Regions from separate parts of the Homo sapiens genome. Here regions 1, 3 and 4 are each linked to region 2. The links are contacts of gene promoters, found by promoter capture Hi-C in human tissues and cell types (Jung and others, 2019). All regions are on one chromosome and are shown on one strand. Each heading gives the region's core, a stretch centred on a gene start or on the middle of the fragment in contact. The rest is flanking DNA. Distances are from core to core; before and after follow the strand shown. Region 1 holds the start of PDCD1 (programmed cell death 1). Region 2 holds the start of AGXT (alanine--glyoxylate aminotransferase). Region 3 holds the start of D2HGDH (D-2-hydroxyglutarate dehydrogenase). Region 4 overlaps FARP2 (FERM, ARH/RhoGEF and pleckstrin domain protein 2).

Region 1 (2,700 bases), core at 155-2,654, 990 kb before region 2:
ACAGGGCTATGGAGGCACCTACCAACCAACAGTTCTCCAGCCCCAGAGCCCCAGCCCCTGAGGCACAAGGGTGGGTGTGCCAGGAGACAGTTGCTGCGGGCCACCTTAGCTGTCTGGCAGCACAGTGGGTGCTGCCAGGCTCCCTGGGGGCCCCCCGCCAAGCCCACCTGGCCAGCTGGGCCCCCCCCACCTCCCCACCAAGCCACCCACACAGCCTCACATCTCTGAGACCCGGGAGTGGCCCTTTGTTCATAAACGAGAGCTTCCTCGCCGTGGCCGCGCCTCGCAGACATCATCTTTGATGCTCTTTTTCCACTGTTTCGGTGCTTTAATGTTTTCCCTTCAGAGCCGGGCCGAGTGTCTCTCGGAGCCAGGCAGCCGCGCCAGCTGTCAGGCGGTTTCTAGCCTCGCTTCGGTTATTTTAAGCTGATGAGCCTGACGCATCTCATCACTAATATCAGCAGTTTCATTTCTCCTGTTTTCCATTCGCTGTAATAAAATGCTCAGCACAGAATACAAGGAGATAAGCAAGCCATTTCACAAACGCCGGGCCGCCAGCCAGGCCCAGGCACTGGACCCCCTGAACCACCCCACCCTGGCACGAGTGGGCTGGAGGGCAGGGCCCCGGGGAAGAAGGTCAAGGCTGGAAGGGGAGGTCAGCCTCACAGCCAGCCCCTGCCACCGCCCCAGCCCCCCCGTCAGGCTGTTGCAGGCATCACACGGTGGAAAGATCTGGAACTGTGGCCATGGTGTGAGGCCATCCACAAGGTGGAAGCTTTGAGGGGGAGCCGATTAGCCATGGACAGTTGTCATTCAGTAGGGTCACCTGTGCCCCAGCGAAGGGGGATGGGCCGGGAAGGCAGAGGCCAGGCACCTGCCCCCAGCAGGGGCAGAGGCTGTGGGCAGCCGGGAGGCTCCCAGAGGCTCCGACAGAATGGGAGTGGGGTTGAGCCCACCCCTCACTGCAGCCCAGGAACCTGAGCCCAGAGGGGGCCACCCACCTTCCCCAGGCAGGGAGGCCCGGCCCCCAGGGAGATGGGGGGGATGGGGGAGGAGAAGGGCCTGCCCCCACCCGGCAGCCTCAGGAGGGGCAGCTCGGGCGGGATATGGAAAGAGGCCACAGCAGTGAGCAGAGACACAGAGGAGGAAGGGGCCCTGAGCTGGGGAGACCCCCACGGGGTAGGGCGTGGGGGCCACGGGCCCACCTCCTCCCCATCTCCTCTGTCTCCCTGTCTCTGTCTCTCTCTCCCTCCCCCACCCTCTCCCCAGTCCTACCCCCTCCTCACCCCTCCTCCCCCAGCACTGCCTCTGTCACTCTCGCCCACGTGGATGTGGAGGAAGAGGGGGCGGGAGCAAGGGGCGGGCACCCTCCCTTCAACCTGACCTGGGACAGTTTCCCTTCCGCTCACCTCCGCCTGAGCAGTGGAGAAGGCGGCACTCTGGTGGGGCTGCTCCAGGCATGCAGATCCCACAGGCGCCCTGGCCAGTCGTCTGGGCGGTGCTACAACTGGGCTGGCGGCCAGGATGGTTCTTAGGTAGGTGGGGTCGGCGGTCAGGTGTCCCAGAGCCAGGGGTCTGGAGGGACCTTCCACCCTCAGTCCCTGGCAGGTCGGGGGGTGCTGAGGCGGGCCTGGCCCTGGCAGCCCAGGGGTCCCGGAGCGAGGGGTCTGGAGGGACCTTTCACTCTCAGTCCCTGGCAGGTCGGGGGGTGCTGTGGCAGGCCCAGCCTTGGCCCCCAGCTCTGCCCCTTACCCTGAGCTGTGTGGCTTTGGGCAGCTCGAACTCCTGGGTTCCTCTCTGGGCCCCAACTCCTCCCCTGGCCCAAGTCCCCTCTTTGCTCCTGGGCAGGCAGGACCTCTGTCCCCTCTCAGCCGGTCCTTGGGGCTGCGTGTTTCTGTAGAATGACGGGTCAGGCTGGCCAGAACCCCAAACCTTGGCCGTGGGGAGTCTGCGTGGCGGCTCTGCCTTGCCCAGGCATCCTTGGTCCTCACTCGAGTTTTCCTAAGGATGGGATGAGCCCCATGTGGGACTAACCTTGGCTTTACGACGTCAAAGTTTAGATGAGCTGGTGATATTTTTCTCATTATATCCAAAGTGTACCTGTTCGAGTGAGGACAGTTCTTCTGTCTCCAGGATCCCTCCTGGGTGGGGATTGTGCCCGCCTGGGTCTCTGCCCAGATTCCAGGGCTCTCCCCGAGCCCTGTTCAGACCATCCGTGGGGGAGGCCTTGGCCTCACTCTCCCGGATCGAGGAGAGAGGGAGCCTCTTCCTGGGCTGCCCGTGACCCTGGGCCCTCTGTGTACACTGTGACCACAGCCCGCTCCTGGACCCTCTGTGCCCGGCTGGCCCTCTGTGCCCAGCCAGCCTGCACCTGGGGATGCCAAGGCCTGGGGAGGGTGGTTTCACCCAGGCCAAGCCTAAGACAGTCCCTCTGGGCCCTGCTGGGTACCGGGGTGTGACACCACTGGGAGGACAAGATGAGGGGCACCCCTGGGGCCGCCCTGACACCCCCTCGAGGCTCCTGCCCCGGGGGTCCTGGTGCCCCTTCACTGTGGCAGGCGACTGGGGGTTCCCCACCTCGGCCCCTCTCCCGGGGCCTGCTCCCCGGCACCTGAGGCAGCATCCTTGTCAGGGCCGTGCCTTCCTGCCTCAGCGCCACCTCTTAAGGTTGGCCCGTGGGTCACTCAGGACTCAGAACTG
Region 2 (2,700 bases), core at 141-2,640:
TGACCTCTGTTGGAGCTGGGGACTCCAGGAATCAGGCCCTCACCCCCTCCCTGTCTCTGCCCTATCCTGTGTGCTGTTCAGGGCCAGGTTGTGGGAGGGGAAGAACCTGCGGCCAAGGGGACAGAATGGGGAAAAGGGAAGCCATATACCACAGGCATCTGAGCCTGCGTGCCCTGATGTCCACTTGGGGTCCTGGCCTCTGCCGACCCTGGGTCCCCTTGAAAAGTTTGTGGACTTGGGGTTGGGACCCTCTTGGCTGTTGCGGTCGCGTATTAACCAGCATGGCCATTGTGGAGCTCACCAAGCTGATGTCCCTCAATGCCACAATCAATCATTAAACCCAGGGCACACTCCTGCTCCTGTGTCTCTCCCAGAAAAGTGTACTCCGGAGGCGAATACTCTGCCCATACCTCCATATTTTGTGTATCACATCAAGATTCCAGAAGGAAGGCTGCTGAGATTTGAGGGGAGGCTTCAGCTTCTGAAACCCCACCCTGTCACAAAGCAGAGCTGGTGCCTGGGGCCCTGGACAGCGGCCGGGGCTCTCAGGAGTGTGTGCTGGGACCAGAGGCTTCCCTGTAGTTCCGTCCTGCACATGCTCCAGAAACAGCTCAAGGAGACTGGGGGGATCGGGGCACCTGTGCTGCTCCCAGCCCTATCAGAGTCAGGCCTCATGAGTGCCCGACACCGCCTGGAGGAGGCAGTGGGCTGGCAGGAGGTTCGTGCGCACAGGGCCACAAGGTGGGTAAGCGCTCACCCAGGAACGGGGGCTGCCAGCTTCAAACAGAGGGAGGCCAGGGAGGCCTTGAAGGATGGATCCAGGGCCATCCCCACCTGGGCCTCTCCCTTACCTATGCGCTCCCCGATGTCCACGGCTCGCTGCCCCCAAATGCCATTGGCCCCAACCAGGAAGGAGTCCCCAGGCTCCAGCACATTGACCAGGGCGGCCTCCAGGGCACAGTGTCCCGAGCCAGAGATGACCAGTGTGAGTGGGTTCCTGGTCTGGAACACGTACTGGATGCCTTCCTTGATCTCGTCCATGATCTGCATGCGGGTGGTATAGGGTGAGACCCAGGCTCCCCGCCTCCCCAAGTGAGGAGGCAGTGACCCCCTTCCCTCGTCCACGATCTGTGGGTGGGAACATGGGTGAGACCCAGGCCCCCCGAGTGACCCCCACTCCTACCTGGTACATATCCTTGCTCATGGACCCGATCATCTGCAGCCCCCCGGCTGCCATGATGCGAGGAGGCAGGTTGGAAGGACCAGGCCCCAGCAGGAGCTGGTTGGGGATGGAGAGGGGCTTGAGCAGGGCCTTGGGGGGGGTCACCAGCAGCTTGTGAGAGGCCATGGTCCGCACCCAACCTGCCGCTCGGGAACCTGGGGCTGCACTGGCCTTGGCCAAAGCCTGGAATATTTCCCAGCAGGGCGGACACAGAGGTGAGAGGTGAGGATTGGTGGATGGGCTTCCGTGGCAGCCCTGCCTTTTGTTCCCTGAGGCTTATCTGTGCTTGTGCTGCGGGTCACGGCCAGGCAGCAGGGGACGAAGCCCTCAGGCAGAGGGAGCCCCCAGGGCTGAGTGACAGAAAAACAGAGTGTGACAAAGCTGTCCTCACCCCAGCCCTCCTCGCTCCCACTCTGAGTCCTGCACGTCCAGCCCCTCTTATTCTGCTTAGCTCAGGGGTGAGAGAAGTGTTTCTTAAAGGGTCGGAGCACAGATAATTGAGGCTTGGCAGGCCCTGTGGTCTATGTTGCAACAACTCAACCCTGCTGCGTGCTTGCAAAGCAGCTGCCAGAGGTGTGGGCGTGTTCCTATAAAACTTTATTTACAAAAAGCAGGTGGCAGGCCAGATTGGGCCCATGGACTGTGGTTTGCTGACCCTGGCGCAGCTGATGGGAAGGCTTGTAAACCAAAAATAAAATTCGAAGGCCCCCCAGCAACCATCTGAATGGGGTTCCCTGTCCGCCAGGGTGCTCTAAACTTTAACCCGGAAGACGTTCAGGCCATGCCACATCATAACCCCCAGCATTAACATCGACATAGACCTTAAGTCTGATAGGAAGCATTTACCATCTATTTTCTCTCTAAATCCCGCTACCTGAAGGCATCATCTGCTCCCTGCAACCCCTATTTCATAACCCAGACACTCCTTTCTGCTGATAATAATTCTTCAGTCAGTTGCCAATCAAAATATGTTTAAATCTACCTATGACCTGGAAGCCCCCCAATTCAAGTTGTCCCGCCCTTCCAGATGGAACCAATGTAAATCTCCCATGTATTGATTGATGCCTCATATCTCCCTAAAATGTATAAAAGCAAGCTGTGCCCCGACCACCTTGGGCCCTTGTGGTCAGGGGTGCACCCTTGAGCTTGGCAAGGATGTCCTCCCTCCTGAGGCTGTACCACGGGTGCATCCTTAGCCTTGGCAACAAAAACTTTCTAAATTAATTGAGACCTGTTTGAGGTACTTTTTGGTTTACAGGCTCAATTTAGCAAGCAAACCTGCATGGTATACAGACACACACAAGGCAGGGGTTGCACAGTGAGTTTCAGCATGCTGCATTCCAGAGATGTATAGAAATTCTAGTTATGTATAAGTTTTAGGTTGAAAAGAGGCCTGGAACCAGGTGCCAACTTTAGATAATAGGGAAGTCTAATTCATTCTACATTTCTCAAATAAAGAGGCTCCCCTCCACCCACCC
Region 3 (2,700 bases), core at 173-2,672, 870 kb before region 2:
GGGTGGCTCACGCCTGTAATCCCAGCAATTTGGGAAGCCGAGGCGGACGGATCACGAGGTCAAGAGATCGAGACCATCCTGGCCAACATGGTGAAACCCTGTCTCTACTAAAAATACAAAAATTAGCGGAACGTGGTGGCGGGCGCCTGTAGTCGCAGCTACTAGGGAGGCTGAGGCAGGCAAATCGCTTGAACCCGGGAGGCAGAGGTGGCAGTGAGCCGACGTCGCGCCACTGCACTCCGGCCTGGCGACAGAGTGAAACTCCGTGACTGCACTCCAGCCTGGCGACAGAGTGAGACTCCGTCTTAAAAAAAAGAAAAAACAAAACAACAACAACAACAAAACTTGGGTTGTTCTAAGCGACTCGTTCGTGGTCATTCATTCCAGCAGCCTGTGGCGGTGCACACGCCCCTCTCAGCGCAGCCAGGGGCTGGCACCCCCATCCAGGTTGTTCTCAGCCCGCTTTGAAGCCTCCACGGGAAGGCGCAGCGGAGCAGGGACGCGGAAACGCCGCAGCTTCCCAAGCCTCACCCACCTCGCAGCGTCCGCAACCAGTCCACGTTGGGAGCCTGCAGCGCTTCCGGGTCCGTGACGACCCCGCCGGGCACGATGCGCTCAAAGGCGGCCAGGTCCTGCTTAGACACCGTGGAGAACGGCAAGCGCCGCACGGGGTAGCGCTCCCGGGTCAGCGGCACCTCGGGGGTCCCCGGGGCGGAGCAGCAGCCTCTGCGGGCCAGGGGGCCAACCGGCCGACCCCAAGAACCCGCGGCTCCCGGAGCACCCCGCAACAGCCACGCGGGCCACGCCAGAGGCCGACGGGGCAGCATCGCCGCCGGGACGGAGACCTCGGGCTCCTCCTTGGTGGGGGGCCGGTACTCAGGGCCCGGAGGGGAAGGGCAGGGAGCCGCTGGCTGCGCGCCTGGAAGTGGCCAAGGGTAATTTCATGTTTTATGCACGTTGTACAAATTGAAACACGCTTGCAGAAGCAGGGAGGGGGCAGGAGGGCAGCGAAGGGAAGGCTCCGAGCACCCGGGCCCTCCCCCTGCCCGGGCCGCAACCCCGCGAGCGCGCGAAGCCCCACGCAGCAGGCCTGGACTTAGCGACGCGCAGGCTCGGGGCGGCCTCGCCGGGACCTTGCCCAGGACCCCGTTCCTCCGAGCTCGCCCCCCGAGGGGATCCCGCGGACGCGCGCGCGTGTTCCACGCGGTCACGTGACGAGCTGCAGCGCCGTCCCCCTCCCCCCACAGGCACCGACTGGCTGACGGCGCCCGAGATCGCGCCCCGCCACCCCGACCCGCGGCTGAACCGCAGACCGGGACCCTCAGCCCAGCGCTCCGCGCGGCCGCGCGCACGCACCCACGATCACGTCCCGAGCTCCAACCCGCAGCGCCCGCCGCAGGCCCAGAGCCGCCGAGCCGGAGTGGGCGGGGCGACGCCGCGCCTGCGCATTGACGGCTCCGCCCAGCGGCCGAAGCCCCGCCCCGCGCGCCTAACGGGCCCCGCCCCGCCTGCCCTCCAGGCCCAGCCCTGCGCGCCTACAGTCCCCGCCCCGCCGTCCAAGCCCCGCCCCGACTGGCACCGGAGGCTCGACGGCCACCGCCTCGTCCTGCGTTTCCTGAGGGCCTCCGGCGCGCCGGCTGTCGGGCGCATCCCTCCAGGTAGAGAAGGGACTAGGCTGAGCGCAGCCCAAGACGCCCAAGCAGCAGCTGGAGGGTTCTCCAGAACGAGGCCCGGGACGTGGGCTCGGCCGAGGGACCTGGGGGCCGGCCCGCTCCTCCGAGGCCGAGCCCAGGGGGCGCCCCTTTCCCCAGCGGCCTCCCCAGCTCCTGCACGGACCACCCCTCCTGGGTCCCCAGCCTTAGCTTAGGGGGCAGCTGCCTCCTGCAGGTGTTTTCTTGCCTCCCTGTCCCTTCTGCCTGTTCAGCCCTCCGTGCCCTCAAACCCTTTGCACACCTGGGGAGCTCCTGCCCTCCTGACGCAGTAACTGCTGTCCCGAGGAGCCTCCCGGCCTGGGATCCCCTGCCTGAGGCATCGCCAGCACTTGTTTTGTGTTTTTTTGAGACAGGGTCTAGCTCTGTTGCCCAGGCTGGAGTTCTGGGGTTGATCTCAGCTCACTGCAACCTCTGCCTCCCGAGCTCAAACCATCCTCCCACCTCGGCCACCCAAGTAGCTGGGACTACGGGCGTGCACCACCACACCCGGCTAATTTTTTGTTGTTGTTGTATTTTTGTAGAGATGAGGTCTCATGTGCTGCCCAGGCTGGTCTCGAACTCCTGGACTCAAGCGATCCGCCCGCGTCGGCCTCCCAAAGCACTTGTTACTTCAGCTCACCCAATTCCATAGAACCCTAGCGGGTGCAGAGGATGCCAATCTCTGAGCAGATGAGGGCAGAGAGCAGGAGACCACACTTGGCCCGAGGCAGGACTGCGGAGCTGTGCAAGAGGTGGAGGCTACGCCCGTGACAGCAGATGGGTCCTGGTAGTCACACAGAAAACCGGCGAGCTGGATTTGTCCTGGTGATGAGGCTCTGGAGCAGCAGTTGCAAGGAGTCATTCCTGTCCTCCTTAACCACATCCCCAGAGGCCACTCACCTTCTTCCCAGGTGAATCATTCATACAACCCTGGAAAGGAGACATCCACCTGGCCCTTCCTACCTGGCTGGCCCTTGCTCTGCAGATGAGTGTGGGAGTTTGCCCATTG
Region 4 (2,700 bases), core at 138-2,637, 620 kb before region 2:
TGTTATAAAATAGGCTTCATATTAGATGATTTTGCCCAACTGTAAGCTAATGTATGTTCTGAGCACATTTAGAGTAGGCTAGGCTGGCTCACGCCTGTAATCCCAGCACTTTGGGAGGCCGAGGCGGGTGGATCACGAGGTCAGGAGATCGAGACCATCCTGCCTAACACGGTGAAACCCCGTCTCTACTAAAAAATACAAAAAATTAGCCAGGCGTGGTGGCGGGCGCCTGTAGTCCCAGCTACTCAGGAAGCTGAGGTAGGAGAATGGCGTGAACCCGGGAGGTGGAGCTTGCAGAGAGCCAAGATGGCACCACTGCACTCCAGCCTGGGCGACAGAGCGATTCCATCTCAAAAAAAAAAAAAAAAAAAAAGAGTAGGCTAGGCTAAGCTATGACATCAGAGAGGTTAAGTGTATTAAATGCATTTTCTTTTCTTTCTTTTTTTTTTTTTTGAGAGGGAGTCTTGTTCTGTCACCCAGGCTGGAGTGCAGTGGTGTGATCTCGGCTCAGTGCAACCTCCGCCTCCCAGGTTCAAGTGATTCTTGTGCTTAGCCTCCCGAGTAGTTGGGACTACAGGTGCCCACCACCACGCCTGGCTAATTTTTGTATTTTTAGTAGAGACAGGGTTTCGCCCTGTTGGCCAGGCTGGTCTTAAACTCCTGACCTTAGGTGATTCACCCACCTCAGCCTCCCAAAGTGCTGGGATTACAGACGTGAGCCACCGTGCCCTGTTAAATGCATTTTTGACTATACTATTTTCCTCTTACAATGGGTTTATCAGGGCATAGCCCCATCATAAGTTGAGGAGTGTCTGTTTCAATTCACACCTTCAACAAGCATTTGCTGGGTTCCCTATATGTGCCAGATGCCATTCTAGAGTAAGAGAAACAGAACCCATCAAGATGGAGTTTAAATTCTACAAGGTAAAACTAAATTGTAGGCAAAGTAAAAAGCAGTTACTGAGAAAATAATTTGTGACTTAATAGTGTTGGTGAGCATTATCATATAAACATTTCACTAATGTGTACAAAAAACTCACAGACCAATGGAGACCAGAGTGACCAGCACGCTGAGTGATTCCTGAGAGGAAAAGCATGGAATGCCAGGACACAGGGGCCAGGCTGGCCTCACCGACAGTCCGCAGGGATGCAAAGTGAAATGATGGGGCTGCTCGATGGGGCTGCTTACCTTACCCACTTGGGAAGAGTAAGAGAGACAGGTGCCTAGCACTTTCCATGGTGGAGGGAAAGATGCATGTTTAGACCTAGCTCCTGCAGGTGGGAAGGTCAGCTGGCGCAGGTGCTCCAACAGCAATTTAGCAGGAGTGCCCAAGGCCGTAAACACCTTTGCTCAGACAAATCTACATTTTGGAATTGATCTGAAGGACATAATTAAGGATGTGCAGAAAGACAGAGATCCAACAATGTTACAGTCCTCAACAACCAGCCACAGCCAAGCGTCCAGTGACAGGTGACTAGTTAAGTGAACTGGGGCTGCCATGAAAGGAAAGGAAAACCAGTGTCCTGACAAAACAGCCCGTGGGTGATGGCAACCATGCAGCAGATGCCTGCAGCCATCACTGCTGAGTGGGTACGATGATAGAGTTCTTTTTCTTGTTTCTTTTCTCTGTGTTTTTTTTTTTTTTTTTTTTTTTTTTGAGACGAGGTCTCACTCTGTCACTGGGGCTGGAGTGCAGTGGTACGATCACGGCTCACTACAGCCTTGACCTCCTGGGCTTAAGTGATTCTCCCATCTCAGCCTCCCAAGTAGCTGGGACTACAGGCACACACCACTTTTGCTCAGCTAATTAAAAAAAAAAAAAAAAAAAAAAGATTTTTGGAGATTTGGCTTCGCCATGTTCCCCAGGCAGGTCTCAAACTCTCAGCTTCAAGCGATCCTACCATCTTGACCTCCTAAAGTGCTGGCATTACAGGCGTGAGCCACAGCAACTGGCCAGTGATGAGTGATTTCTGTCTTATACTTTCAATTATTTTTTTCTATAATAAAGGTGTAATTTTTAAAAGTATACTTTAAAACAAATGGGGTCTGCTTCCGGTGGTGGCAGATGAGCTAATTCAAACTGACCTCTTCTTGCTGAGGGCCTGAGAAGTGGAATTAAATTTTACAAACACCTGCCTGAGGGTTTTGGCGCTCATTGTCAGGAGGAGGCAGTGCAGAGGGATAAGACCCTTGAAGAAAGAACAGGGAAAGAGGACCCCAGGGAGGGAGGACCCCACTGGGGGAGGAAGGACTCCAGGGAGGGAGGACCCCAGGGAGAGAGGATCTCAGGGAAGGAGGACCCTACTGGGGGAGGGCCCTGGGGGAGGAAGACCATGGGGAGGGAAAATCCCAGGGAGGGAGGACCACAGGGAGCAAAGGAGGACCCCAGGAAGGGAAGATCCTAGGGAAGGAGGACCCCAGGGAGGGAGATCCCAGGAAGGGAAGATCACAGGGAGTGAGGGAGGACCTCAGGGAGGGAGGACTCCAGGGAGGGAATATCCCAGGGAGAGAGGACTACAGGGAGCAAGGGAGGACTCCAGGAAGGGAAGATCCTAGGGAAGGAGGACCCCAGGGAGGGAAGATCCCAGGAAGGGGAGATCACAGGGAGTGAGGGAGGACCTCAGGGAGGGAGGGAGAAGCCGATGGAGGGAAGATCCCAGGGAGGGAGGGAGGACTCTAGGAAGGGAAGATCCTAGGAA

The links. The method cuts DNA at HindIII sites, captures the fragments that hold promoters and counts their contacts. A contact is called where the count stands out against the background at its distance.
Region 1: the fragment with the promoter of PDCD1 here is called in contact with the fragment with the promoter of AGXT in region 2 in 1 of the 25 tissues and cell types used here (psoas muscle).
Region 3: a contact is called between the fragment with the promoter of D2HGDH here and the fragment with the promoter of AGXT in region 2, in 2 of the 25 tissues and cell types used here (lymphoblastoid cells and neural progenitor cells).
Region 4: a fragment that was not itself captured here is called in contact with the fragment with the promoter of AGXT in region 2 in 3 of the 25 tissues and cell types used here (heart right ventricle, hippocampus and spleen).

The regions. Positions count from the first base shown.
Region 1 is chr2:241,857,598-241,860,297 of GRCh38, reverse strand. PDCD1 (programmed cell death 1) reads left to right here and starts at 1,404. Exons shown (of 5, transcript NM_005018.3): 1 at 1,404-1,535. The coding sequence starts at 1,460. LOC124908032 (a long non-coding RNA gene) reads right to left here and starts at 1,226. Exons shown (of 2, transcript XR_007088436.1): 1 at 221-1,226. RefSeq lists an enhancer at 1,236-2,198. The HindIII fragment of the contact is 28,999 bases long and covers 1-2,700 here.
Region 2 is chr2:240,867,514-240,870,213 of GRCh38, reverse strand. AGXT (alanine--glyoxylate aminotransferase) reads right to left here and starts at 1,390. Exons shown (of 11, transcript NM_000030.3): 1 at 1,184-1,390; 2 at 852-1,044. The coding sequence starts at 1,348. RefSeq lists an enhancer at 1,371-1,871. The HindIII fragment of the contact is 24,692 bases long and covers 1-2,700 here.
Region 3 is chr2:241,733,352-241,736,051 of GRCh38, reverse strand. D2HGDH (D-2-hydroxyglutarate dehydrogenase) reads right to left here and starts at 1,422. Exons shown (of 10, transcript NM_152783.5): 1 at 1,357-1,422; 2 at 536-919. The coding sequence starts at 827. RefSeq lists an enhancer at 356-595 and silencers at 636-745, 756-1,805, 1,846-1,895. The HindIII fragment of the contact is 17,644 bases long and covers 1-2,700 here.
Region 4 is chr2:241,485,420-241,488,119 of GRCh38, reverse strand. The region is part of intron 21 of FARP2 (FERM, ARH/RhoGEF and pleckstrin domain protein 2); the gene reads right to left. Among named protein-coding and RNA genes, the nearest start is that of MIR3133, 8.9 kb to the right of the region's middle. The HindIII fragment of the contact is 9,439 bases long and covers 1-2,700 here.